Linked DNA regions of Homo sapiens: regions 1, 2, 4 and 5 are each linked to region 3. Evidence: promoter capture Hi-C in 16 types of primary human blood cells and fetal thymus (Javierre and others, 2016). All regions are on one chromosome and are shown on one strand. The core of a region is centred on a gene start or on the middle of the fragment in contact, and the rest is flanking DNA. Distances in the headings are between cores, read along the strand shown.

What was found. The method cuts DNA at HindIII sites, captures the fragments that hold promoters and counts their contacts. A CHiCAGO score of 5 or more calls a contact.
Region 1: a contact is called between a fragment that was not itself captured here and the fragment with the promoter of RNF20 in region 3, in 1 of 17 cell types (total CD4 T cells). The highest score is 7.0, in total CD4 T cells.
Region 2: a fragment that was not itself captured here is called in contact with the fragment with the promoter of RNF20 in region 3 in 1 of 17 cell types (fetal thymus); the score reaches 7.4 in fetal thymus.
Region 4: a contact is called between the fragment with the promoter of NIPSNAP3B here and the fragment with the promoter of RNF20 in region 3, in 15 of 17 cell types (total B cells, non-activated CD4 T cells, M0 macrophages and 12 more). The highest score is 31.0, in total B cells.
Region 5: a fragment that was not itself captured here is called in contact with the fragment with the promoter of RNF20 in region 3 in 1 of 17 cell types (activated CD4 T cells); the score reaches 9.9 in activated CD4 T cells.

The regions. Positions count from the first base shown.
Region 1 is chr9:104,966,069-104,970,992 of GRCh38, reverse strand. No RefSeq gene overlaps it. Among named protein-coding and RNA genes, the nearest start is that of CT70, 23 kb to the left of the region's middle. RefSeq lists enhancers at 2,654-2,703, 2,784-2,833. The HindIII fragment of the contact is 4,642 bases long and covers 474-4,924 here.
Region 2 is chr9:97,922,251-97,927,329 of GRCh38, reverse strand. It overlaps TRMO (tRNA methyltransferase O), which reads left to right and starts at 4,830. Exons shown (of 5, transcript NM_016481.5): 1 at 4,830-4,912. The coding sequence starts at 4,837. HEMGN (hemogen) reads left to right here. Exons shown (of 4, transcript NM_197978.3): 4 at 1-539. RefSeq lists an enhancer at 4,778-5,079. The HindIII fragment of the contact is 1,734 bases long and covers 2,963-4,696 here.
Region 3 is chr9:101,532,059-101,537,155 of GRCh38, reverse strand. RNF20 (ring finger protein 20) reads right to left here and starts at 3,303. Exons shown (of 20, transcript NM_019592.7): 1 at 3,242-3,303; 2 at 1,604-1,758. The coding sequence starts at 1,732. It also overlaps a transcript of PGAP4 not described here. RefSeq lists an enhancer at 3,432-3,561. The HindIII fragment of the contact is 1,893 bases long and covers 1,532-3,424 here.
Region 4 is chr9:104,762,852-104,767,732 of GRCh38, reverse strand. NIPSNAP3B (nipsnap homolog 3B) reads right to left here and starts at 3,604. Exons shown (of 6, transcript NM_018376.4): 1 at 3,433-3,604; 2 at 1,198-1,408. The coding sequence starts at 3,492. RefSeq lists silencers at 3,289-3,478, 3,676-3,875. The HindIII fragment of the contact is 4,394 bases long and covers 736-4,881 here.
Region 5 is chr9:104,984,256-104,988,951 of GRCh38, reverse strand. It overlaps CT70 (cancer/testis associated transcript 70), which reads left to right. Exons shown (of 4, transcript NR_184160.1): 3 at 1,539-1,638. Among named protein-coding and RNA genes, the nearest start is that of CT70, 5.2 kb to the left of the region's middle. The HindIII fragment of the contact is 1,325 bases long and covers 2,648-3,972 here.

The sequences.
Region 1 (4,924 bases), core at 1,545-4,044, 3.4 Mb before region 3:
CTCAAAAATAAATAGACAAAAATACACATATACTTAAAAACTTCCACACACTCCAGGATGAGAACTCTTGCCCTATGTCAGCATACTAACTCCTTCCTTCAAATTTCAACAGCAGCTATTATGCAGCATGATCATCTTCCTCATACTCTAGACCTCCAGCCAAGTGACTTCTGGCTCTTCCCAACTATCAAATCCCTAAAGGAACGAGATGTTCCTGTGCTGAGGAGGTCCAAAAGAATGTGCTGTAGATTCAAAAGCCATTTCCACAAGGAGCATTCCAAGGATATTTGAAGAAATCCAGAGTCCCTGGAAAGCACAGCTTCTCCAGATGACCACCTAGAAGAGGGTAGCATCTCCGTACCTGTGCTGGTTGGCTCTTAAATAATCAGTCCCTTTCCCAGGCAAGGCTCATGGGGAGCCTTTGGTGTGATAACTTCTTATATGCTAATACAATAATGGACAATTCCAAAGCTTAGCAGAGAGCCCCCATTAGCAGATACTGCCTTCTCCATTCAGGTTTTTGGAACCACGCCAGGCAGTTATGTGCATCTGCCTTCCTGTTCCAAACTTTGTATAAACATGTACCTCTATTTTCTTCTTCTTTTTTTTTTTTTTTTGGTGGCGGGGGGTACGGAGTCTCACTCTGTCACCAGGTTGTAGTGGAGCGATCTCGGCTCACTGCAACCTCCACCTCCCAAGTTCAAGCGATTCTCCTGCCTCAGCCTGCCGAGTAGCTGGGACTACAGGCATGTGCCACCATGCCCAGCTAATTTTGTATTTTTAGTAGAGACAGGGTTTCACCATGTTGGCCAGGATGGTCTCCATCTCTTGACCTCATGATCTGCCCGCCTCGGCCTCCCAAAGTGCTGGGATTACAAGTGTGAGCCACTGTGCCCAGCCTACCTCTATTTTCATCTCCACCTCTCCCAACAGACTCTGGGCACAGACATGAAGGTCAGACACTGGACTCATGCATTCATCATTTATATGTCTATTTGACATGTATGAAAAGGCCACTATATGTTAGCACTGCTAATACAATGGTGAACAAAATAGTGCTGCAGCTTCTCAAGCAAGGCAGGCAGGCCAGGTAGGGTGGCTCGTGTCTGTAATTCCAGAACTTTGGGACGTTGAAGCAGGAGGATCACTTGAGCCCAGAAGTTTGAAATCAGCCTGAGTAACATTGTGAGACCTCCTCTAAATTTTTTTTTTTTAATTAGCTGGGCATGGTGGTGCACGCCTGTACTTCCAGCTACTCCAGAGGCTGAGGTGGGAGAAGGATCGCTTGAGCCCAGGAGTCTGAACTTGCAGTGAGCTATGATCGCACCACTGCACTTCAACCTGGGTGACAGAGGGAGACCCTGTCTCAAAGAAATAAAGAAAGAAAAGAAAAGAAAACAGGCAAACAAGCAATCATATAACAAAGTGTGGCTAATACTATCCTTTGGGAAATACAGAATACTTGATAGGACAGCCTGGTCTCCCTGGGGGAAAGGAAACTTTTAACTTAAGATCTGATGTACATCCTTTCCAGGGCCCAGCACAAAGTATGTGCTCAATGTGAAACATTACCCTGGGCAAAATCCTCCGGGCTTGCTGGAGAGGTCACTCACTAAGGGGCAATTGTTAGTCAATTTAAGAGTGGTTGTGGTGAGCCAAGGGCCCAGGGCCTGAGCATTCCGAAAGCCAGCTAGCGTCAGGTGCAGCTGGTCACCTCATTCAGCTCTTTCTGACACATTTGTGAAGTGGTAGGAGAAACAATAGACTTAGAACTCCTGTAGGGTTCAGTCCCAGGGTTCTGCCACTGATTACATTCGTGTGTTCTCACTTGTCCTTTTGTATAATGATGCCACCTTCCAGAGCAAAGGAATCTATGAAAGCCTGTTGCAAATGTAAGGACATGGAATCTATTTATCTAATCTATCGCCTGGCTGTCTGAATTTGCAGGGGAAGAAGAGGGCAGGGTAAACAATAAGTTTAGGAGAACTGGCAGGGGCACTGCCTTGTAGGGCTTGTGCCTCAAGCCTTTTGTTGTCTCGCATGATCTGGATTTGGCAAGGAGGGGGCAGCTTGAATTCCGGGCGGGCTAAAAGGCCTTGGCTGAGGTCTAACGGATTTCACAACACAGTATGGAAAGGCTTCCCACGAAGCGATCGGGGTGGGGGATGGGGAAAGCTGCAATTCTGCAAACTGGGAAAGGGTAGGAGGTGGGAGGTTCCCGAAAGCCAGGATGGAGTAGCGATTAAAACCCTTGATTACTGACACTACCCAGCACCCCCAACCGACCCCCTTCAAATCTCTGCCTTAACAACCGCAGCCTACAGGCAGTGTTATCACAAACTTGCACCGCAGGCCCTACCTATGAGCCCAGTCAGCCCTAAGGCAGCAGCCAGCCCCTGAGTGGCACGGGAGGAGCGGCCCCCACCTCCGGCAGCCGCGCATGCGCGCCGCTTACTCTGCGTTCCAACACCTCTAACACTCATCAACGGCGCCCCGATCCGCAGATTAAAGGAGCCTTCTCCCCTTTTACCCCCGGCTGTGCCCCATGCTCAATACACAGCAACTCCAGAGTCCATAGGCAGCTGTGCGGCGGTGGGGGTAGAAGGAAACGAGTCAAGAAGCTCTCGGGCCCGGCCCGAAACTACAACTCCCAGCAGACCCCGCGCCGCCCCGCCTTCTTGTGGGCGGGCCGAGGGTACCCAGCAGCTTAAAGCGGCGAGATCGCGACGTGTGTGGAAGGCTGGGTGCATGGTCTGCGCTCTGTGATCCGGCGCTGGGAGGGTGGAGAGAGCGGTGGCATCTTTCTGTCTTGCCTGTTGTACCTGAACTAGCAAACAGCACAGTTGAAATAACCTCTGAGCGCATTTAGAGGCGTCTCTCAGGTTCAGCAACTTGTTGCCCCTACTTCACAAATTCTGCATTGTTGGTTTAGCAAATGAGAACCTGAAAAATCGCCTGTATGTTAAATTTCTTCTTCTTTTTTTTTTTTTTTTTTTTTTTTTTTGAGACGTAGTCTCACCCTGTTGCCCAGGCTGGAGTGCAGTGGCGCGATCTCGGCTCACCGCAACCTCTGCCTCCCAGGCTCAAGAGAGTCTCCTGCTTCAGCCTCCCAAGTAGCTGGTATTACAGGCGCGTGCCACTACCACCCAGCTAATTTTTGTATTTTTAGTAGAGACTGGGTTTCACCATGTCAGCAAGGCTGGTCTTGAACTCCTGACCTCAGGTGATCCACCCACCTTGAGCTCCCAAAGTGCAGGGATTACAGGCGTGAGCCACCGCGCCCGGCTAAATTTCTGTGAAAATAAATTATTTTCCCTACCATGTCCAAGCAACCCTATTTTTTTTCCTAGTTTGCAGGTGTCTGTGGTTGATGTTTACTATCACTTATTTTCCCTAAAGACTCAACACACAAAAAAGAGGGGAGTCTGTTTAAAGAAATTCTGCAGTGAATCATCCTGAAAACGTAAAAACTTGTTTTGATAAGTTTTATACTTTAATTTTCTAACTTTTGTAATGAAGTGTCTTTAAAATGCAGCACACTTGAAATCCTTTTTTAAAGTGCAGAGTTAAGTGGTATCCTAATTTTTGAATAGGACGCAGAGAAGTTTAAAGAGGTTTAAGATCTACTCTTTGCTTCTTGCTAACGATGCAAAACGATGGTTCTTAGAGGGCACGAGGGATAGCTACCTTCTAGAATAGTGCTATTGGTCTGCACGACTGTAGTGGGTTTCTTGAACGGTGTAGTTTAGACCGTGATTTCTTACAGCCGCTAATGAACATCCTCCACATGCTAACGATGAACTCCTTTTGTTTTTGTTTGTTTGTTTTTTCCAAACAAATACAATTTAAGGGCCTCCATGGGAGTCATTTGGGAACTTAAATGCAGAATGGTTTAGCGTTGGATTTTTTCTTTGTTTTTGGAGTTAGCTTCAGCCTGCTGTTTTATGACCATGTGTGTGTTCACTCTCTTTAGTGTGGCATTTATGGATAACATGAAATTGGCCAACTTGGCAAAAGTTAACAAGATACATAATTTTTTATTTGTTCTTTGTGTGGGGCAGCCCAGCAATAGGCATACTGAAAAATTGAAATAATAGTTGATGTATAGTGATTTTGATCACTAGAGCAGCTATTGTGTTCTGAACAAACCCCCCATACACTGTGAAACATTAAAAGGGAGGAAGCAATACTTGCGATATTTAGTAATATTTAGATTTTTCCTTTTTTTTTTTTTTTTTTTGAGATACAGTCTCGCCCTGTTGCTCAGGCTGGAGTGCAATGGCGCGATCTCGGCTCCACCTCCTGGGTTCAAGTGATTCTCCTGCCTCAGCCTCCTGAGTATCTGAGATTACAGATGCACGCCACCACACCTGTGTGATTTTTTGTATCTTTAGTAGAGACGGGCTTTCACCATGTTGGCCAGGCTCGTCTCAAACTCCTGACCTTGTGATCCACTGGCCTCAGCCTCCCAAAGTGCTAGGATTATAGGCGTGATTCTCAAATGTTCTTCTTTTTTTTTTTTTTTGAGATGGAGTCTCACTCTGTTGCCCAGGCTAGAGTGCATTGGTGGGATCTTAGCTCACTGCAAACTCTGCCTCCCAGATTCAAGTGATTCTCTCATGCCTCAGCCTTCCAAATAGCTGGGATTACAGGCATGGGCCACCATGCCAGACTAATTGTTGAAGTTTCTCTATTTTGGCCAAACTGGTCTGGAACTCCTGGCCTCAAGTGATCTCCCCGCCTCGGCCTCCCAAAGTGCTGGGATTATAGGTGTGAGCCACTGCTCTGGGCCAGAAGTTCTCTTTATAATCAGGAATAGAACAAGCCTTCTGGCTACTTGCTTTTCTATTATACATTTAATTTATCAAGTCCTAGCCCCCCCTCCACCCGCAGTAAGACAAGAAGTTGTAAGATATAAGACAAT
Region 2 (5,079 bases), core at 2,580-5,079, 3.6 Mb after region 3:
GCGTGATTTTCTCAAAATATTGTAAAACTTTTGACAATGCTCATTAATATTATTTTTTCTATTTGTAGACCATATCTGAAAGAAATAACATTTTTTAAGGCTCTACCACATAGACAATATCATGCTAGAATGTGTGTGTGTGTGTGTGTGTGTGTGTGTGTATGTATGTATAGGTCGGGGAGAGGATAGTGGTGGGAACAGACAAATAAGGAAGCGGGGAGGACTGGATAATTGGTTTTCCCCCCTAAGAACATTTATTTACGTCTTAAGAGCAGATAAGTGACTAAGACTGAACACATACATTTTGTGGAGTATATAGTTTTCTTGTAAATGCTGTTCAATTATTAATGTAACAGTAGCATCAAAATTTTATTCAGGCTTTAGTTGACTCTTTTGGTCAGTTTTAACAATTCTCCTTAAAAGATATTTTGGAGTGATGAATGTAGTTTACTTTTGTATTTGAATTTTGATTTTCTATTTTTATTTTTTAAATATTGTATTTGTGCACAATGTACATTAAATCATTATTACATGCTTAACTGTGTGGATACCATCATGTTAAGAATTGCGGAGGTTAGAAGACCTATCTAACACCCCACGGTGGGGTTAATTTGGTTTCATGGGGAAATAAAACAGAAAACAAATAATCACAAAAGAAAATAGTAAGGGCTGGTGCCATTTGAATGGTAGATACAAACAGAGAATGCTCACTTTTTGCTGGAGTGACCTGAAAAAATTACACAGGCATGAAGCCTTGAAAGACGGAAAGTATTTGCATAGATGAGGATAGCAGCATTACTGTATGTGACAAAGAGAAGGGTGAGTTCAAAACATGTTCAAGAGAACTGCAGGCAAACTATGGTTAATGTAGAGTCCATATGAAATAGTAGTAGGCTTGCATGCTGAAAAGCTCATATTACTAGAGCATAGAATATTTTGCTTACCTAACCAAGAAATATATCACTTGTTAAAAATGGGGAATGAAGTCAGATTTTTGAACAATGGAATGGCAATTTCACTATTTTAGGAATATGGTAAATATGGTGATAATGGTAAAGATTAACTGAAAACGACAAGAGACCGGGGCAGGAATAGAAGCTGTTCTGGATGGGAAGATGTCTGAAAATCTACCCTGGTATTTTTTGTTTTCACTTTTCCTTCTGTTATTACAGAGGACTAAGGATATTTTTGCAAATAAAGTTTCATTCAGCAAGAACACACTTGCACAAGCTTTCCATATAGACACTGTGCTAGGTACTAGCTATATCAAAGAACAAGACAGGGTCACAGTCCCTCAGGCATTCATGGTATAATGAACATGAGAGAGCAGTGGTTCTTTCAACCCTTCTGGTACATTAGACTCACCTGGGAAGGTTTCAAAAATACATATATGTCCAGACTTCTCCCCCAGGGATTCAGATTCCCCCATCTAGCTGATGTACAGGCATAGGTATATTTATTTTTTAATTGTTTTATGCTTCAAATAATAGTTTTTGGAGGAATAATTTTAGAATTACAGAAAAGTTGTCATGATAGTACAAAAGTTACTATATACCTTTCGCCCAGTTTACACCAATGTTAACGTCTTACATAACCATGGGCCATTTGTCAAAACTAAGAAATCAGGATAGTTACACTACCATTAACTACAGACATTATTCCGTTTTCATGAATTTTTCCACTAATGTGCTTTGTCTGCTTCAGGGTCCAATCCAGGATATAGAATTGCATTTAGGATGTTTTTATTTTAAAAGCTCTCCTGACAATCCTAAAGTGGAGGTAGGGTTGAGAACCAATAGTACAGTGGGATGTTACAATATTGTTTCCCTCCTATCTGCCTACCCCCTTTTGTGTGTACATTAAATTTTTTACCATCAGGATGTATTCATTGCACAATTATTCATACCCCTATTATATTTATTACACAACATACTGAGGGCAGGGCAGCACAACCACATAATAGTTTCGTCTCTTTTTTTTTTTTTTTTTTTTGAGACGGAGTCTCACTCTGTCGCCCAGGCTGGAGTGCAGTGGCACCATCTCGGCTCACTGCAAGCTCCGCCTCCTGGGTTCACGACATTCTCCTGCCTCAGCCTCCCGACTAGCTGGGACTACAGGCGCCCGCCACCACGCTTGGCTATTTTTTTTTTTTTTTTGTATTTTTAGTAGACGGGGTTTCACCATGTTAGCCAGGATGGTCTCAATCTCCTGACCTCGTGATCCTCCTCGGCCTCCCAAAGTGCTGGGATTACAGGAGTGAGCCACCGCGCCCGGCCACAACCATATAATAGTTTCTTACCTCTCAATGACACTTCAACATTTATACTTTCACATAAACTATTTTATTTGATCTGTACAAAAGTATGTGAAATAGGCCAGGCGGTGATTATCACTCTCACTTAAAGATGAGGGAATAACATAGAGGGAAGGTACTCACCCAAAGTCACATCTGACTTCCTCAGTGCTTTTTTTTCTTCTTTGGAATGTGCTTCTGTCTCAATTTCACCTGCCAGAGTGGGCCAAAATTAGAGGAAAAAAAAGAGTAAACTGAAGTCTCAAGTTCTAACAGCGTTGCATTAAGATGGACCTTAAGAGATTTGCATACGTACAGTGCACAGGAGCACAAAGATGAGATGGGGAAGGAGAGGGAAAGAGGAATGCAGTACATTAGAGGAAGCAGAATTTCTCTCTCCACCTCTCGGGACCCTTTCTGCTTGCCCTCTTACATCACTCCCTGCATTCACACACCACTTCTGCTTTCTCACCATTCTTGTTTAAACATCACTGTGCATCTAAAATTCTTCTGGCGTTCTTCTTGGCTTAGAACCTTTAGGTGACAGAATTAAAGTTTTGCAAGAATCCTTCTAGCTTGACTTTGTGCTGCCCTCCTCTCATGTTAGGTTAGAAACCCATGAACCATATGATATTATAGCCAAAATGATGTGTGGGACGGTTCAAAGCTTTAGTTGATTCTCAAAGGGGTCCTTCACCCAAATGAGAGGTTAAGAATCACTCTACTGAGAAGTGTTTCTCAAAGTAGTACAAGCTGAAGACTACATAATTATTTAGGTCATTTCTTTAAGGCAGATTTCTAGGTCTTACATCTGGAGGAGAGGTTAAGTCTTATAAACTGCAAATAATCACATATAATTCCAGACAAGATAATAAGAACTTCAAATCATAGACTAAAAAATGTGCTGCATATTTAAGTTCCCGTTTTCAGTCAAGAGAAATTTTACCTATAAAAGAAGTAGCAATCTATTTCCCTAGTATATTCAAATCAGCTTTGCATTTCAGTACTTGTCACACTTGGTAATTACATATTTTTTTGTGTGATTAACAACGTCTACCATGCCCTCCAGGAGGGCAAATATCTCTTTAAATCTAGTCTTTCCACAGATAAAGCGGGACTATCATTTTTAGCAACACCACCATCTAGTGGCAAGCGCAGTAATTCTGGCCCAGTTTTATAAACACACACATACACACACACGCGCGCGCGCTATATATATATAAAACAATGATTTTCAAACTTGTTTCTCCAGCTGCACAGAGCTGTCCCTCCTAAAAAAAATGGCAGCCTTTTCCAAGTTGTCCTGTAAAAATGACCTGCCAAAAGACACTATATGAATTTGATCAGTTTTATCTTATTTTTTAAACCACAATCTTTAATTATTTGGCTCCTCCTGCTGGTTATTTTCTACCAGAAATCAATGACAAATGGACAGACATGGAAACATCTTTTCATGGTTGTTAGACTTTTCAATCTGTGACTCATATGCTTTTGAATATTTTATACTGCAGATGTTAACAGATAAAAAGATAAAAGATTTTAAAATTTCTCCCAGAAAGAGAATTATATACAGAGAAACTTACTAAAGGTGAGAGACAGCATTACAAGTGGGTAAAAGATAGGCTATCATTGCAAGGACAACTGGTCATTGCATGGGATTAAATGATTCTTGTTAGCTCTTAGCTTCTCAGAGCTGTCCAGAAACGACAATAATCCCCACAATGCACATGGCATGTTGACTCTTATAATTCCATTCTCACTTCAGTTCCGGTAAGGTGTGGAGCACAAGAAACAGTTCCCACTCCTTAACCCCTAGCACATAGTAGGGCTCCTTTATAACATCCACCACACTTGAAATAAGACTTATTTGGGGTTGTTTCTGACAAAGCATAACTTATATTATGGAAAAATTTCCCACCACCCAGGGATAATTTTTTTTTTTTTTTTTTTTTTTTTTTTTTTTTTTTTTTTGATACGAGGTCTCGCTCTGTCACCCAGGCTGGAGTGCAGTGGCGCGATCACGGTTCACTGCAGCCTCAAACTCCTGGGCTCAAGCGATCCTCCCGCCTCAATCTCCTGGGTAGCTGGGACCACAGGTGCCTGAGAATTCTTAACATTTCTTAACGTCCAGTCCTTCCGCTCTGTGTTAATTACATATACACATCCCTTAAAAATTAGGGTCATACTGGACGTATAGGTTACTTAATAATGTTTCGAGAGAGACATAGTTGCGAGTTCTTCATGGAGGTGTGTTCCCTCTCAAAAAGCGCGGGAAGCCGGAGTCGCATTCTACCCTAGGAGGGCGGGCAACTGTAGCAGCTGTGTGTAAGATAAACGAGATTGGGGTCCCGGAGGGGCACACGCCCGGGATAGGGTTCGAAGCCCCATGGAGAACTCAAAGCTTCCCTCAACGCCACCCTGCGCGCGCACATTCTCCTGGGTTCGCGGGACCTCGCCGGCGAGGCCACTGCGCATGCGTCAGGCATGGAGAGCGGAAGCGGAAGGTTGAATGCGTCGGGTGGGCACCTCAGCAACCAGTAGCCATGCGCGGCTTGGAGGAGTCGGGGCCTCGGCCTACAGCGACCCCGTGCGGCTGCGTTAAGCCGGCTCTGGAGACAGGTAACTTCCAACACCGGCGGTGCCACACTCTGGAGAGGTTTAGGCCCAGGCAGCGGACTTCGTTGCCGAGAGGGGTGTAAAACGCACGATCTGGAACTGACGTGCGTCATTCTTTTACCTACGGCGAAGGCACGGGTCACGTGCTGCGGAGACCACGTGATGTGCTT
Region 3 (5,097 bases), core at 2,054-4,553:
CAGCACAGCTGTGGTGGACAGCTCCATTTACACTGCCATTGTTCCCACTTCAAGCACACTTTGGAGACTCAGTTTTTCTGTCCCGCAATCACAGCTGGCTCCTAACAGCAATCTCAAAATGCACAGGAGGGACTGCTTTCAATGGCAACCTTCAACCAATTGGAGCGGGGATCAGTGGATACATGCCTCAGATCCCCACCTTTGGAGAGATGCAGTTATAGCGAAAGAGAGTAAGAAGAAGAAAAGAAAAAAGTCTGCTAGCTGGACTCTTGTTTATAATCCTTGCTTTTCTATAGTCTCCAAACACAAGTCAGAGCATGTTAGTCTCCTACTTAAGACTATCCACTAACTCCTCATTGCCTCTGGATAAAGTCCACACTGGGGTGTGTGCTATGTGCTTCCCATAAGTATGTGCTTATCCCTGTCAACAGCACATACCCCACTCTAAACAGTCTATTCCCTTGTCAGTGCTACCCTACAAACTAAAGTCTAGGGGCTGTCTTCAGTGTAAAGGATAGTGTCTGGCAAATAACAAATACTCAACAAATATTTATATATTGAGTGAATAAATGCCTTTGGAATGCATGATGCAAGGCAGTGCTAAAACAAAAATCACTTCCTGCCAGCAATATTAAGTACCAGAACCTCAGGCAGCCTCAGAAATGACACTTCATCAACAACTCACTATGAATGTTCCTATTATTCTGACTCAAAAAAAAAAATCAGCCTCTCTAAAATAAACCTCAGCCTCAAAATCAAATAAGCAATAGATGTGGTTTTGCAAGCCATACAAATGTAAAGCATTTTACAAAATGTAAAACATTTTAATATCACATCCCCATGTCTGATTTTCAAAAAAGCAAAATCTTGACGTAGATCAAAACCTGTAAACTTCTGATGTCTAACAGATATATAACATTACTATGAGATTTTGGTATATAATACTCATTTTGTCAGCTCCATAAGAGCAAGGATAATATCTATGTTATGCACCATTATATTATCTAGCCCAATATTAGCTATGAATGCCTCCCATTTATTGACTATTTACTATATTAAATGCAAAGTGTTAGCCCTTAACAGGGACTCTTATTTTATATGCATAAAAATCTAATGTAGCAGGTACTCTAATTACATTTTACAGACAAGAAAACAGGCAAAGGAAGGATAACACAAGGTCAGCCAGCTAGGAAGTGGTACAGCTCAGAGTCAACTCCAGGCAATCTGGTCTCAGACTCTCACTCTTCACCATACTCTCAATGATTGCTAAACTGTCTCTTAGAATCTGGTACTGACTTTTTCAGTGAATGAAAAATAAATGTGTATCTTCCCACTGCTAAATACCTATAGTTAATGTTGTATCAGGCACCACCTTCCCAGATTCTCGAAAGAATATAAGTACACCTTGAAAACAAAGAACAACTATCAATCTACCTCTCCTCTAGAACTGACTACCACATCATTTTACCTACTTTCAGCCTGTTTTATTTCCCTCTTCTTTTCAAATAGCTTCCCCATACTCCAGAAAGCTTCCATGAATTTTTAGTTTCAAGTTGCAACTGACAGAAGACAAGCACACTTTCATGGCACTGTTTCCTCATACCGTTGAAGAGACACCTCCTAGCTTAATTGTTTCCACTGTGGTCCCTGAATCTTCAACAGCTGCCTTCTTCTCAGGAGGCATGGAGGTGCCAGGTTCTCCAGCTGCTCTTTTATTTCCAATTCCTGACATTTTGGCAGAAGAAGACAGTCGTTTTCCTGATAGAAAAAAAGGCAGAAACTGACATAATATATGTAAGCAAAGCAACAATAGAGTAAAACAATAGAGTAAAAACTAGCAACTTTTCTGGCCAACCCTTTAACCTGGATCCATTAATTCCACAACCATCTCCATATTTCTCTTTGAGGAAAAAAAAAAAAAATTAAATTGTAGAGTAAAAGTCAAGGCGGGCCGGGCGCGGTGGCTCATGTCTGTAATCCCAGCACTTTGGGAGGCCGAGGCGGGCGGATCAAGAGGTCAGAAGATCGAGACCATCCTGCCTAACACGGTGAAACCCCGTCTCTACTAAAAATACAAAAAATTAGCCAGGCGTGGTGGCGGGCGCCGGTAGTCCCAGCTACTCGGGAGGCTAAGGCAGGAGAATCACTTGAACCCGGGAGGCGGAGCTTGCAGTGAGCCGAGATCGCACCACAGCACTCCAGCCTGGGCAACAGAGCGGGACTCCGTCTCAAAAAAAAAAAAAAAAGAAAGTCAAGGCTAAATTTACATGACTATAAATTTCTAAATAGGATGGTGATAAGAATGGTGATAAGAAATGAGACAATGGGCAAAGGGTGAAGAGACCAAAAATAAAGTTCTGGAATCTCTCTTCCTGTAATGCCAAAATCAGAAAAGGGCAGTTTGATTATGCCAGAAGTTAATACTACAGTGTTGAAAGAATCACAGAGCTGAAAGAGATCTGTGAAATGCCTACTAAAGTCATTAGTACTAGACAAGTCAGTTATCATCTCTAAGCCTCAGTTTCCTAACCCAGGAATAAATAACCACAGTATATACTTCCTATGCTTATTATAAAATAAAATGGATGATATAATTATAGAAAGAATTTGGCACAAAGCCGAACACAAAGTAAGCACTCAGAAACCCCAGCTCTTCTTTAACGTTTGCAGTGTTTTCCCTATTTCCAAACGCTCTCTCCACTGTTTTATGCAACCCTACGTTAGTTAGACCTGGGTGCGAATTTCAGTTCTGCCTGTTAGAGGCCGTGTTGCTTTGAAACAGTGAATTCGCCAAGAGCTTCAGTTTCCTCAACTGCACAATATTAACGAATATATTTTTCGTCTGCCCTGCCTACCTCCCAGGGTGCTCAAAGGAGGCGGAATGGATGCTAAAGCACTTTGGCTACTTCAGGAAACAACGCAGCCATCACCGAGACTAACAAGACTACTCTGCTTCCAATTCAAGCTCCAGGAGAGGACTATCGCTGGCAACAACCTCAGTAGGACCTCGCCTGGAGAGAGAAGACACAGAAGCAGAACAAGGCTGCAATCCAACTCGCTAAAAGCCAAAGACCTCAGCCTCAGCGTGGATAATTGCAGGCCCAGGAGACTGACGGCCCCAAAACTGGAGAGGGTGGAGACTCCTGAGGCCTGGCACAGTCCTGTTGGGCCCTAAGCGTGATCTAACCTAAGTTCTTTGAACTGGCGCCGCGCGGGAACAGAACTCGCAGCAGTTACTCACCAAGGCCCGTGCAGAGATTCCAGCTCTCACCCCTGACCCGCGGCGGAGACAAGGCAGAACTTCCGGGAGGCGGGGCCACGGAGAGGAAAAAGGGAAAGAAAAAAGGAAGTGGCTTCAACCCAGCCCATAGGACTATGAGACCCCGCCGGGCGGAAGTGACGTACGGAGAGGGCACGAGAAGCTTGAGCAAGCGCCGCCTCCCTAGCAACGCTGGGCAAGCGCGGGACCCTCTCCTGGCTACGACCTCTAAGAGTACTCGGGCCTCGCTGATGCCTGACGGAGAGCCCTTGGCTTTTGTTGACTTGTTGACCTTTGCTACTGCGATCTGGTCTTTCTGCGGGGATAAAGTTCCTCATTCTGTTGCTTGTCATTGGGGTTGCCATCACTCGTTCAGACGGCCGATTGGCTGACGGTCCCGTCAATCTCCGGGGACATGACTAGCCTCAGACACCTCAGAAAATTGTTCGTTGGTACCCCTACGTGCTGAAATGAAGAGTTCTGGAGAGAATCTGAGGGATTTGAGGAATTTCAGATGTTGGGGATTTTTTCCCCCGCACAGGGAGCGGTATTCTGCCCTGTCTACACATTAGAATCACTTGGCCTGGACAAAAGCTTTTTTAAAAAAGCGTTCCCCTCATCTCCTCCCCCCAAACCCCGCATTTCCATCCACTAGATTCTAATGCGTAAGCAGGAGTGACAACTACTGCCCTTGTGCTTTTTTGGGAACAAGAAATTGTCCAGGGAAAAGATAAACGCCAATCAGTCTCTGATCTCAGTACTAGTCTATTTTAAGCTAATTAAGCATTGATTTTTTTTTTTAAGTTTATGACAAACTGCTATTTTCCATTCAGTTAAACTAAATGCGTTTTAATGATAGGACGGTAATTAATCTAACCTATTAATGAAAAGCTGTATGTCTCGCAGAACTATGATAAACTACCTAATGACGTCAGCTAAGGGTCTAGAAATGGAAGAATGATCGCTATATCTTTTTTAAAAAATAGAATTTAGGCATCTTGGGAAAAAAAGAAGCTAATCTACACTGGATTTCTGTTAGTGTGAAGACTTTTGTCCCTGTACCTGCTAGGGCTTACCTGTAAATGAAGTAAGATGGTCAACACCAGGGAAACAAGTGTTCCTGGTGCCTGGCAGTGGAACACCTTGACTATCTTGGAAAGAATTAACTGGCCCCAAGTGGACTTCACATTTCATTCCGTGAAGTGGGAGCCTGAGAACATGTGAGTGGGGACACACCTGCCGAAAAGCATTGTATGAGACAATGACACTCATTCTCTCATCTTCTTTGGTTCCTCTACTCTTAGCAAGCCTTTCATTCATAGAACTACTGAATGGCAAGTAATGGTTTTTCTAGCCCAGAAAACTAGAGGTTCACAGACTGCATTTAGCCAACAGTTATGCTTTGTTTATTTTAGACAGTATTGGCTGTCCTGCGTGGTTAAAAACAAGAACAAAAATGAACTTAGTTGCCAACATTTAAAATATGGCTATTTTACATAAAAATCCAAATTATCAGTTTCTCTAAAAAATGTTGATGATCTTGCAACAGAAGGGTTATATTTTTGCATGGTCACATTGCTTAGAGCAAAGTAGTGGCTTCTTCTTTTTTTTTTTTTTTCTTTTTTTCGAGACAGAGTCTTACTCTGTCACCCAGGCTGGAGTGCAGTGGCACAATCTCGGCTCACTGCAAACTCCACCTCACAGGTTCAAGCAATTCCCATGCCTCAGCCTCCCAAGTGGGTGGGATCACAGGCACACGCCACCACACCTGGCTAATTTTTGTATTTTTAGTAGAGATGGGGTTTCGCCATGTTGGCTAGGCCGGTCTCAAACTCCTG
Region 4 (4,881 bases), core at 2,355-4,854, 3.2 Mb before region 3:
GTGGCTCACCTAACGCACATAAGTGGATTATATATGTGGTTTATCTAAAGCATATAAATGAATTATAAACACTTTATTAGCAGTTTTTTCAATGGGACATGTTTCAACTTGTGGTTTATCTAAAGCATAAATTATGTTTTAATAGGGTCTGTTTTATTATAACAGGGAAAAACTAAAGAGTTACGTCAAGCATAGAATGAACACTTTTCATATTAAATTACTTTATGACTATTAACTTTGGACACTGATCACTAAACAGTAAATGAAATTATTAAAAGTTCTTTAGGTATCCTCAAGTCCTGATGTGGACTGTTAAGAACAGACATGGAAGTAACAAACATTCTGGGGATTCTTGTTACTTGTTCTCTTTCCTCTACTAAACCAGGGGTAGGTCAGCTTCAATATGGGAAGGACTGTCTCTCATTCCTTTTCCTTACCTCCCTAGGGTAGTATGAAAGAATTCCTTGAAACTCTGGGGTACAGAAATGAAAAAAGAAGTGGTCTCTAAACATAACAGAATTATTAAATCTCAGAGTTGGGTGACGCTTAAAAGTTAACTATCATCCTTTAAAAACCTCCATTTTTATAAAGCTCCCAAATGGGTGAATTATTTCTGCAAAAATGCTGATATCCAGCCCTAGCTGTAACAATAATAAGAAAAAAAAAATTATCTTATCCTAATGACACTCCTTTACCCAAGAACTGCAATTAGGAGTCTCATAAATTTACAAAGCTTTCTCCCTTATTTAGCCAGTATTCCATCTTCGTCAATACCATATACATTAGTTACACATTTAAAACATTTTTATTAAATATACATGTCTTTTGGCAGGCCCAACGGTGATCTTAACCCACTTGAACATTTACAATTACTGCTTTAAATTTTTCATGAGCTATCTTTATAGCAAACGATTCTAACATTTTTCTGAGGATTAAAGTCTAATTCACAATTTTATGGTTTGATATATGAGACTGCATGTTTTCTCATTTATGATAACATAAGAGTTCAAGCAAGGGGTGGTTAGAGGTGTACCACTGGGAAGAAGATCTGCTAAATTTATTTTTTTGGTATTGCTTTTAAAAAGTCTTACTTAACCTGTATGTATCTATGGTAATATAGATCCAAGAACTAAGTCTTATGTTACATTTAACAGAATGAAAATCTATACTGAATACTAAAACTGGATGACTCTTTACCATACTTCCAAATATGAAACACTTTATTCGTTCTGCCTCCAAATTCTACACTCCAGAATCCAACCAATTCAGAGTAAGAGGTCCGAAGATGAATGTTTTTCTTAAGATTTTCCATGAACGCATTCATATTTGAAGGTTTAAGGTAATAAGTACGAAATTCATAGAACGTTCCATCGTATTGTCTAGGGCCCGTAGCAAAAGATGAACACACCTGAAGGAGGTAAGACAAATGTAAATATCTTGGGAAGGTACAATTACAGATTTGGTTACAACCAAATCTGAGTCTGGTACAAGGAACACACATAGACTCATTATCCATTGTTTACTTTTGTTGTCAATTCTCCATATACACTTGTTTACATAGAGATGTCAATAAAGATAACTACTCTTAATTCTGATGAATATATAGCAACTGTTTCCTAGCAGGGGTCTACCTCTAGCCATTTTTTCACGAGAATTTGCTCACAAGAAGGCTGTGGGATCATAATGATACTCCTTTACCGAAGAACTACATTTAAGACTTAGTCTCTTTAATTTACAAAGGGTTTTCCCCTGTTTAGCCAATATTCCATCTTACTCAATACCATATGTATTAGTTCCACACATTGAAAAAAATTTATTAAGTACACATGCCTTTTGGCAGGCCCAAAAATACGTTTACTAACAAAAAACTCTTGTTTTTAAAAGGTTCCTAAAAAAACAGGAAGGGCTATTCAGGTCAAAGTATTTCCTGAATCTACTGATGAAGACTACCGGTCAAAAACAGGACTGGAATGTAACTAATATAAAAGGAAGCTATAACTTATCCAATTGCATTGTACTATGGGTGTATACTGCATAAAGGCTGAAAAGGAAAAAAACTCAACAAATGAGAATTGTCTCCATCATTGTTTCTAATTACAGATGCAATATCAAGAAGTATGTACATTTAGTGCACTCAATTATACCAAGTTTATGGAACTATCCTTTAAGAACCACCCTTTGTAATAGTCATATGCCCAATGGGTAAATTTTCTGTCCTAATCTGGCCCTCTGAGCCTGAGTGAGCTTAATGTTCAGTAGCAAATGCCCTGTCAGAAATTATCCAGTCTGTCTGTATGTACGTACATGCAAATATTTATGTAAACACACGTGTATACACAGACCACTCCCGTGGCATTCTAGTTTACAAATCCATTCATTTAGGCATGGTTAGCATGTGACAATTTCCTGAGGCTCACTACCCAGAATAATCTATCGCAACAGTTTCAGTAGGCATCTTTCACTGACATATTTTTGGTTACAACATGCAAATGTCTATGTAGTTTGTGTGCATAACGTCTTAATTATAATTGTCTATCTTGAGTTCATTCATCTCCAGTATGAGTTATGCCCTTATTGCCCAAGTGTCTTAGTTTTCTTAGAAAACCCTTCTTCATACCAAAAAATACCTGCAACTATCCTTTCTTTTGATGGCCATTCTTTTTGGGTCAGTTTAATCAAATTCTGAAAATAAAAAACTGCTTAGTATCTACAGTTTAAAAATATTATTATCTCGGAAAATGGGCCAATGAGGTATTTCTAATAACTGCTTTTAAAGTTGATTTTCGGAGATTTGTATCTGGAGATGTTATCCTAAAAAAACGCAACAGCTGGCGCCACGGGGGTGTCCCGGGAGTTGTGGCATTTAGGCTAGAAACAGCTGGCATCAGGCTGGGCACAGTGGCTCATGCCTGCAATCCAGCACTTTGGGAGGCCAAGGTGGGCGGATCACGAGGTCAGGAGTTCGAGACCAGCCTGACCAACATGGTGAAACCCCCGACTCTACTAAATAGTAAACACAAAAAAAATTAGCCGGGCGTGGTGGCTGGCGCCTGTAATTCCACCTACTCCGGAGGATGAGGCAGGAGAATCGCTTGAACCCGGGAGGCGGAGGTTGCACTGAGCCGAGACTACGCCACTGCACTCCAGCCTGGGCGACAGAGCGAGACTCCGTCTCAAAAACAAAAACAAAAATCACAAAAACACTGGCATCCAGTTAGAAAACCCCTCTGACAGCGACTGCCAGCGAGACGACCCCGGCCTGTAGCCTCCTCCTTGCGCGCCAGACGGCTCCAGAGACCGCGTTAGAACTTCGGCGGCGGCGCGGGGCCCCAGGTCTGGGAGCGCCTGAGCGTGGCTCGCACGCTTCAGAAATACCCCCCGCCCCTCCCCTCCCCTCCGGCCAGGGCTCGGGCGCGCCCCCGCGGCCAGTACCTGAGGCGCGAGCGTCCGTGAGGCAAGCGCCTTGGTCAGGCCGCTTCTGAGAACGAGCATGGCGCGGCTTCGGCACTGAGAAAAGCAGCCAGCCGAGTCCTTTGTGAGACTTCTCTGAAGTCTTCCCGAGTGGAAAAAAGCGGCTCCTGGACCACTGGCGAACTCAGGCAGGGGCGGGACTCGGCGGGGTCAGCTCCACCCCGGCGCGGGAGGCGCGACAGGTCCCGCAGTTGGCGTCTTTCTCTTCGGCGCTGAGCCTCGGTCCCCCTTGGTTTCCTGAAACGTTCTTGCCCCAGACGTTAGAGGTGACAGAATTAGCTGAAGGCTGGGATCGTTCCTGCCCCACCTTTCTGGGCCCTGACCTCATTCGCTCCGATGCGCAGTTGTGTAGATTCGTAAATGTGCGGCGGTTGTGCTTGTGTTGCCCCTGGAGAAGGAAGGGGAGGTGTTCAGCGTGTGCATGTGCAGTGCTTTGCATTTAAAGTCGAGATGTTGACAGGGTTAACTTGTTTCTTTGTTTGAGACGTAGTCTTGCTCTGTCGCCCAGGCTGGAGTGCACTGGCGCGATGTCGCCTCACTGCAAGCTCCGCCTCCCGGGTTCACGCCATTCTCCTGCTTCAGCCTCCCCAGTAGCTGGGACTACAGGCGCCCGCCACCACGCCCCGCTAATTTTTGTATTTTTTAGTAGAGACGGAGTTTCACCATATTGGCCAGGCTGGGACAGGGTTAACTTTTACAGGTTGTGATAGACGTGTATTTGTAGACCAGTGAGCCTTCGCTTTTCTGCATTATCTGTCCCCATTGCCACCCCACTGTGATCTTGGAAGGCTCCTAATAAAGATTTAATTTTCCATGAGCTCAGTGGAATAGCAGCACCGAGCCTGATAGGAAAAAGTCGAAGTTAAACATAGATAGTTTGAAACTAGATCGTTCTGTAAGCCTTAAGAGCAAAACAGCCGACCTCTGGTCTAGTCCTCCCAGTCCCAGAGTACTGGTCCCCAGACTAACCACCTTCAACATTTTAAGCTGTTCTTCTAATACCTGTTTCCGTATGTTTTTTATTTTTTTGAGACAGAGTCTTGCTCTGTCGCTCAGGCTGGGGTGCAGTGGCATGATCTTGGCTCACTGCAACCTCCGCCTCCCGGTTTCAAGAGATTCTCCTGCCTCAGCCTCCTGAGTAGCTGGAATTACAGGCGCACGCCACGACACCTGGCTAATTTTTCTATTTTTAGTAGAGACGGCGTTTCACCATGTTGGGCAGGCTGGTCTTGAACTCCTGACCTCAGGTGATCCTCTCGGCTCAGCCTCCCTAAGTGCTGGGATTACAGGCACGAGCCACTGCGCCTGGCCCGTATTTTTAAATAATAGTCATTTTCTGCTATTTCTTGCATTTTCAGTTATGGAGAGTATGTGTTGCCTTCCTTCTGTGGCAGATGAGGATTTAGGTCT
Region 5 (4,696 bases), core at 2,061-4,560, 3.5 Mb before region 3:
TCATAACTAGAAATCCAGAGTAAAGAATATAGTGGGTGGTTTTGCTCTCCTGTGTTCTGGTCAGATCCCACCTGGAAGGCTGGGCTCAGGTCTGGGCATGGTGTACGAAGACATCTACATTAAGATGGCAGCCAGGAGAAACAGCTTGGGGTTGTCCAAGATGCAATTGGCTCCCTCAGGGAGGAGTTGCATTTGTTTCCTCTAATCTCTGTCATCACCTTGGGATATTTCAGATTCATAAGGCCAAGCATAACATATGAGGCAGTGTGGTGTAATGAAAGCAGTGAGGGATTTGGTGTCAGACTGACGTGGTCCCATGGTCTTGACTCTGTTCACCCCTTCCCAACTAGATGACCTTGAGTGTACTCTTTAATTTCTCTGGTTCTCAGTGTTCCTAGTTATAAAATTGGGGGGAATCAGACCTACCTTGCAGTATTGCTGTGAGAACTAATTGAGATAATGTGTGTTTAATAACCGCCCTTGGCCGGGTGCAGTGGCTCATGCCTGTAATGCCAACACTTTGGGAGGTGGAGGCGGGCGGATTATTTGAGGTCAGGAGTTCAAGACCAACTTGGCCAACACAGCAAAACCCCGTTTCTACTAAAAATACAAAAATTAGCCTGGCATAGTGGCTCATGCCTGTAATCCCAGCCACTCAGGAGGCTGAGGCACGAGGCTCGCTTGAACCCAGGAGGTGGAGGTTGCAGTGAGCCAAGATCGTGTGCCACTTCACTCCAGCCTGGGCAACAGAATGAGACTCTATCTCCAAGAAAAAAAAAAATCCTCTTCTCTTTTCCATCTACATACAAACACAAATGAGAATGAGTTTAATTTCTGGCCAATAATTTAAAGAAGTCCTTAAAAAGATAATTTTTTAATCTTTAGCAAGGTTTTTGAGTGACAGACGTAGTGGTCTTTAAAAGTTTAGCCAGGTTTTTCTTTTTTCTTTCTTTTTTTTTGGAGACAAGGTCTTGCTCTGTTGCCCAGGCTGTTGCTCAGTGTTGCAATCATGACTCACTGCAACCTCAACCACCTGGGCTCAAGTAATCCTCCTGTCTCAGCCTTCTGAGTAGCTGGGACCACAGGTGCATGCCACTGCACCTAATTTTTTAATTTTTGTAGAGATAGGGTCTCAATACATTGCTCAGGCTGGTCTTGACCTCCTGACCTCAAATGATTCTCCCACCTCAGCCTCCCAAAGTGTTGGGATTACAGGTGTAAGCCACTGCACCCAGCTGGCCAGATTTTTAAACAGCTGGTTAGAGAGAACTTAATGGATTTTTCTGCATTATGGAACAAGAATTTGGAGTCTGGGGCAATCTGGAGTGAAGGCGTAAGGAGGAAAGATAGTAGGGGCTATGGTCTGAATGCATGTGTTTCCCCAAAATTAACATGTTTCAACTTAATCTCCAATGCAATAGTATTAAGACGTGGTCTTTGGGAAGTGTTTAGGTCATGGGGAGAGATCCCTTATGAATGGGATTAGTGCCCTTATAAAAAGGACTAAGGGAGCTTATTTGTCCCTTCCACCTTGTTAGGATACAGTGAGAAGGTACCATCTATGAATCAGAAAGTGGGCCCTCATCTGAACATGACCATGCTGGCACCACGATCTTGGACTTCTCAGCCCCCAGAACTGTGAGCAACAAATTTCTATTGTTTATAAATTACCCAGCATAAGATATTTTGGTATGGCAGCCTGAATGGACTGAGACACTAGGAAAAAGGAAGAGAGAGAAAGATTAAGGAATTCAGCAGGAGGCCAGATCTTAAAATGTGGACCTGGTCCAAGGCCTTAAAGAATAGAGATGACTGATACTGAATTTAAAATTGATTGGGTTCTGGGAGGCGGAGATTGTGGTGAGCCGAGATCTCACCATTGCATTCCAGCCTGGGCAACAAGAGCGAAACTCCATCTCAAAAAATATATATAAATAAATAAAATAAAATTGACGGTTTTTTTGTAATGTAAAACCTCCTTTTTTCCAAACTTTAATAAATGTCACTACATACGTGAACGCCTCTATAAGTTTCCTGTGAGTATTAATTTGAGTTAAACATCTGTGAGATACAATGTGGACTACAGCAAAACAATCCCTTACGAGAATAATTCTGAAGAAGCTGGTGTTGGGAGCCTGAGCTAATCAAGAAATATAAGGAACCCTTTGGAATTCAAAGAAGGCTTGGGAAGATTATTTGGTTTACCATAATCCATAGAAAAGGAGGTCTTAACCACTTATTTCCATCTGAGGGGTCAGGATAACTCCAGCTGGCATCTGAATTTCAGATGTAAAGAACCTAGCATAGAGTAGGCACTTCAAAAAGTGGAATTTAAACAATTTAATTGATTGAATCCTTATGGAGTTTTTTTTATGCCAGAACAATTCTAAGCACTTTACATATACAACACTTTTAATCCTCATTATAACTCTATATGTAATATTATTACCCCACTTGAAAAATGCATACACTGAGTCACAGAGAACGTACCACAGTTAGCAAGTGGTGATACCAAAGTTCAAATACAGGCACATGTATATTCTAACTAATAACTATTGTGGTCTCTGCAACTATAGCTGGCGTTACTCTGCACTGCCAAGCTGATGCAAGACTCCCTGTCCTCTGGGTGTAGGCACAATTTTAAGCTTATTGACCACCGACTGTGGAAGAGGTTCCAACAGGCCAGGAAGTTATCAGGAGGGGAGGAAGTGGAGAAGTAGCTTCAAGCCTGGAGGCTTTCTGCCCATGGAGCATGTCCAGTGTGGCCAAGGAAGACATTGTCTTCCCTGGCTGTTTGTTCTCTAAGCTAGAAATTATCTTAAGGAGATAGTAATGTGCAAAAAGTGATTGCTTTCCTGGCTGAGATGTCCTGAGGGGGATGGAAGTAAACAGACTTTGAAGGGATGGGATACTTAGGATGGCTGGAAGGCAGCCCAGGAGCTCTAAGGGGATACAAGAGAGGGCACTGCAAGGGGACAGTGATGTCACCAGGACACCGCGTCCCCCAAAGCCAAGGGAAGCAGTAGCTTAGTGGCTCATAGGACTGTGCCACCCTTTTCCACTCCTAGCACTCACCCTCCAGGCAACCTCAGGTGGCCTCTTCAGGCCTTTGAGAGATGCCAAGGATCATGGAATTGGCTTGGAGGGAAAAACATTATGGAAATCTAGGAGATGCTTGGCAGAGATGCCCCCCGCCCCTCCCCCCACCAAAAAAAAAAAAAAAAAAAAAAGAAAGCTGTTTGTGGGAACTGTGGCCATAGATTGCCATTTGTTGGAAGACCCAAAGAAAGCTAGTATAGTAAAACAGACCCAAGTTTGGAGACTGTTGTTAATTAATTTCTGTAAGCCTCACTTATCTCAAGTATAAAATGAGGATAATGACACCTACCTCACAGGGCTATTTATAAGATAAAATCAGAGAATGCAGGTGAGGATGCTTTGAAACTATAAATACACCACAGAAATGTTATTTGCATTGCTGAGAGAAACAGTGTTTGGAACATTGTTCATAATCAATCAACTCAATTTCCAGCTACATTTTGGTAGTCAAAATCCAGTCCCACCCCCAAATAGAAATCAGTGTCCCCTCATCAAAACTGAAAAGAAAAACACTTCGATTTGTGATTGGTTTGCATCAGCTTATTCCCAACAGATATTCCATAATTTTTTACACTGGATCTTTCCCCTCTGCTGCTAGCTACAAAGAGAGATTAGATGAGCCATCTGGCTGATAGGGAAAGTGCTTTCTCATCTTTTAAAGTATCTTCCTCATCCATCAAAGGGCTCAGCGTGATTGGATGCTTCTCTCATTTGCTCCCTCTTTTCTTCCTCTGGCAAGTCTCTGTGCCTTTCAAATTGTAAATAATTTCCCAGACACAGATTACCTTCTCTTGGGCCCTCCTGCACCCACCCCATCAACTGTCCCTTAGCTACTGATGCATTTTTCCTCTCACATTCTGGCACCCCCAAGCTTCCAAATAAAGATATTTAATAGCTATTCCTGCTCTGTAACAAGAAATCAATATACTAAAGGAAAATATAGATTTGGGGATGGAACAAAAAGGTTCTAGGAAGCAGAACATCTGTCGCCTTCATAAATTGTTCCAAAGCTTCTCATAAATGAGACAGTAAGTTCAGAGTTTCCCCTTTGATCTCTTTCACTTCATAGACATTAAAGGTAAAGGGCTATGACTCTTTGTTTTGTACTCATTTGCTAGATTCAGTTACCAAATACGTTTATGAGAAATATAGGAATTAAAAAACCTACAACTGGGAAACATCAGTCATGAATGCAGTGTCATTAAGAGGCAAGTTAATTATAATCAGAGTGTAAAAACAGTGGGCCTGAGGAAGAGAGATTATCCTTTTTAAAGTTGATATAAATGAAGTCTACAAACTGATAAACACTCAAAGCAGTCAATGTAGGTTATTTTATTCTCAAACCTGCTGCGGCTTGGACTTTTACCAAGTCCACTCTTCCATCCATAACCAGGATTTAATAATAGCTGTAATTATTAAATATTTATTCTGAGCATTGGGCTAGCATCTTATGTACTTTATCTCTTTCAATCTTCATAATAATATCTCGTGAAGTGGCAGCCTTGAAGATGAGGAAGTGGAGGCGATGGGCTGTTAGCCACTTTGCCCAAACTCCCCATTCTGATAAGCAGCAGGGCTGGCATGTGAACTCAACTTG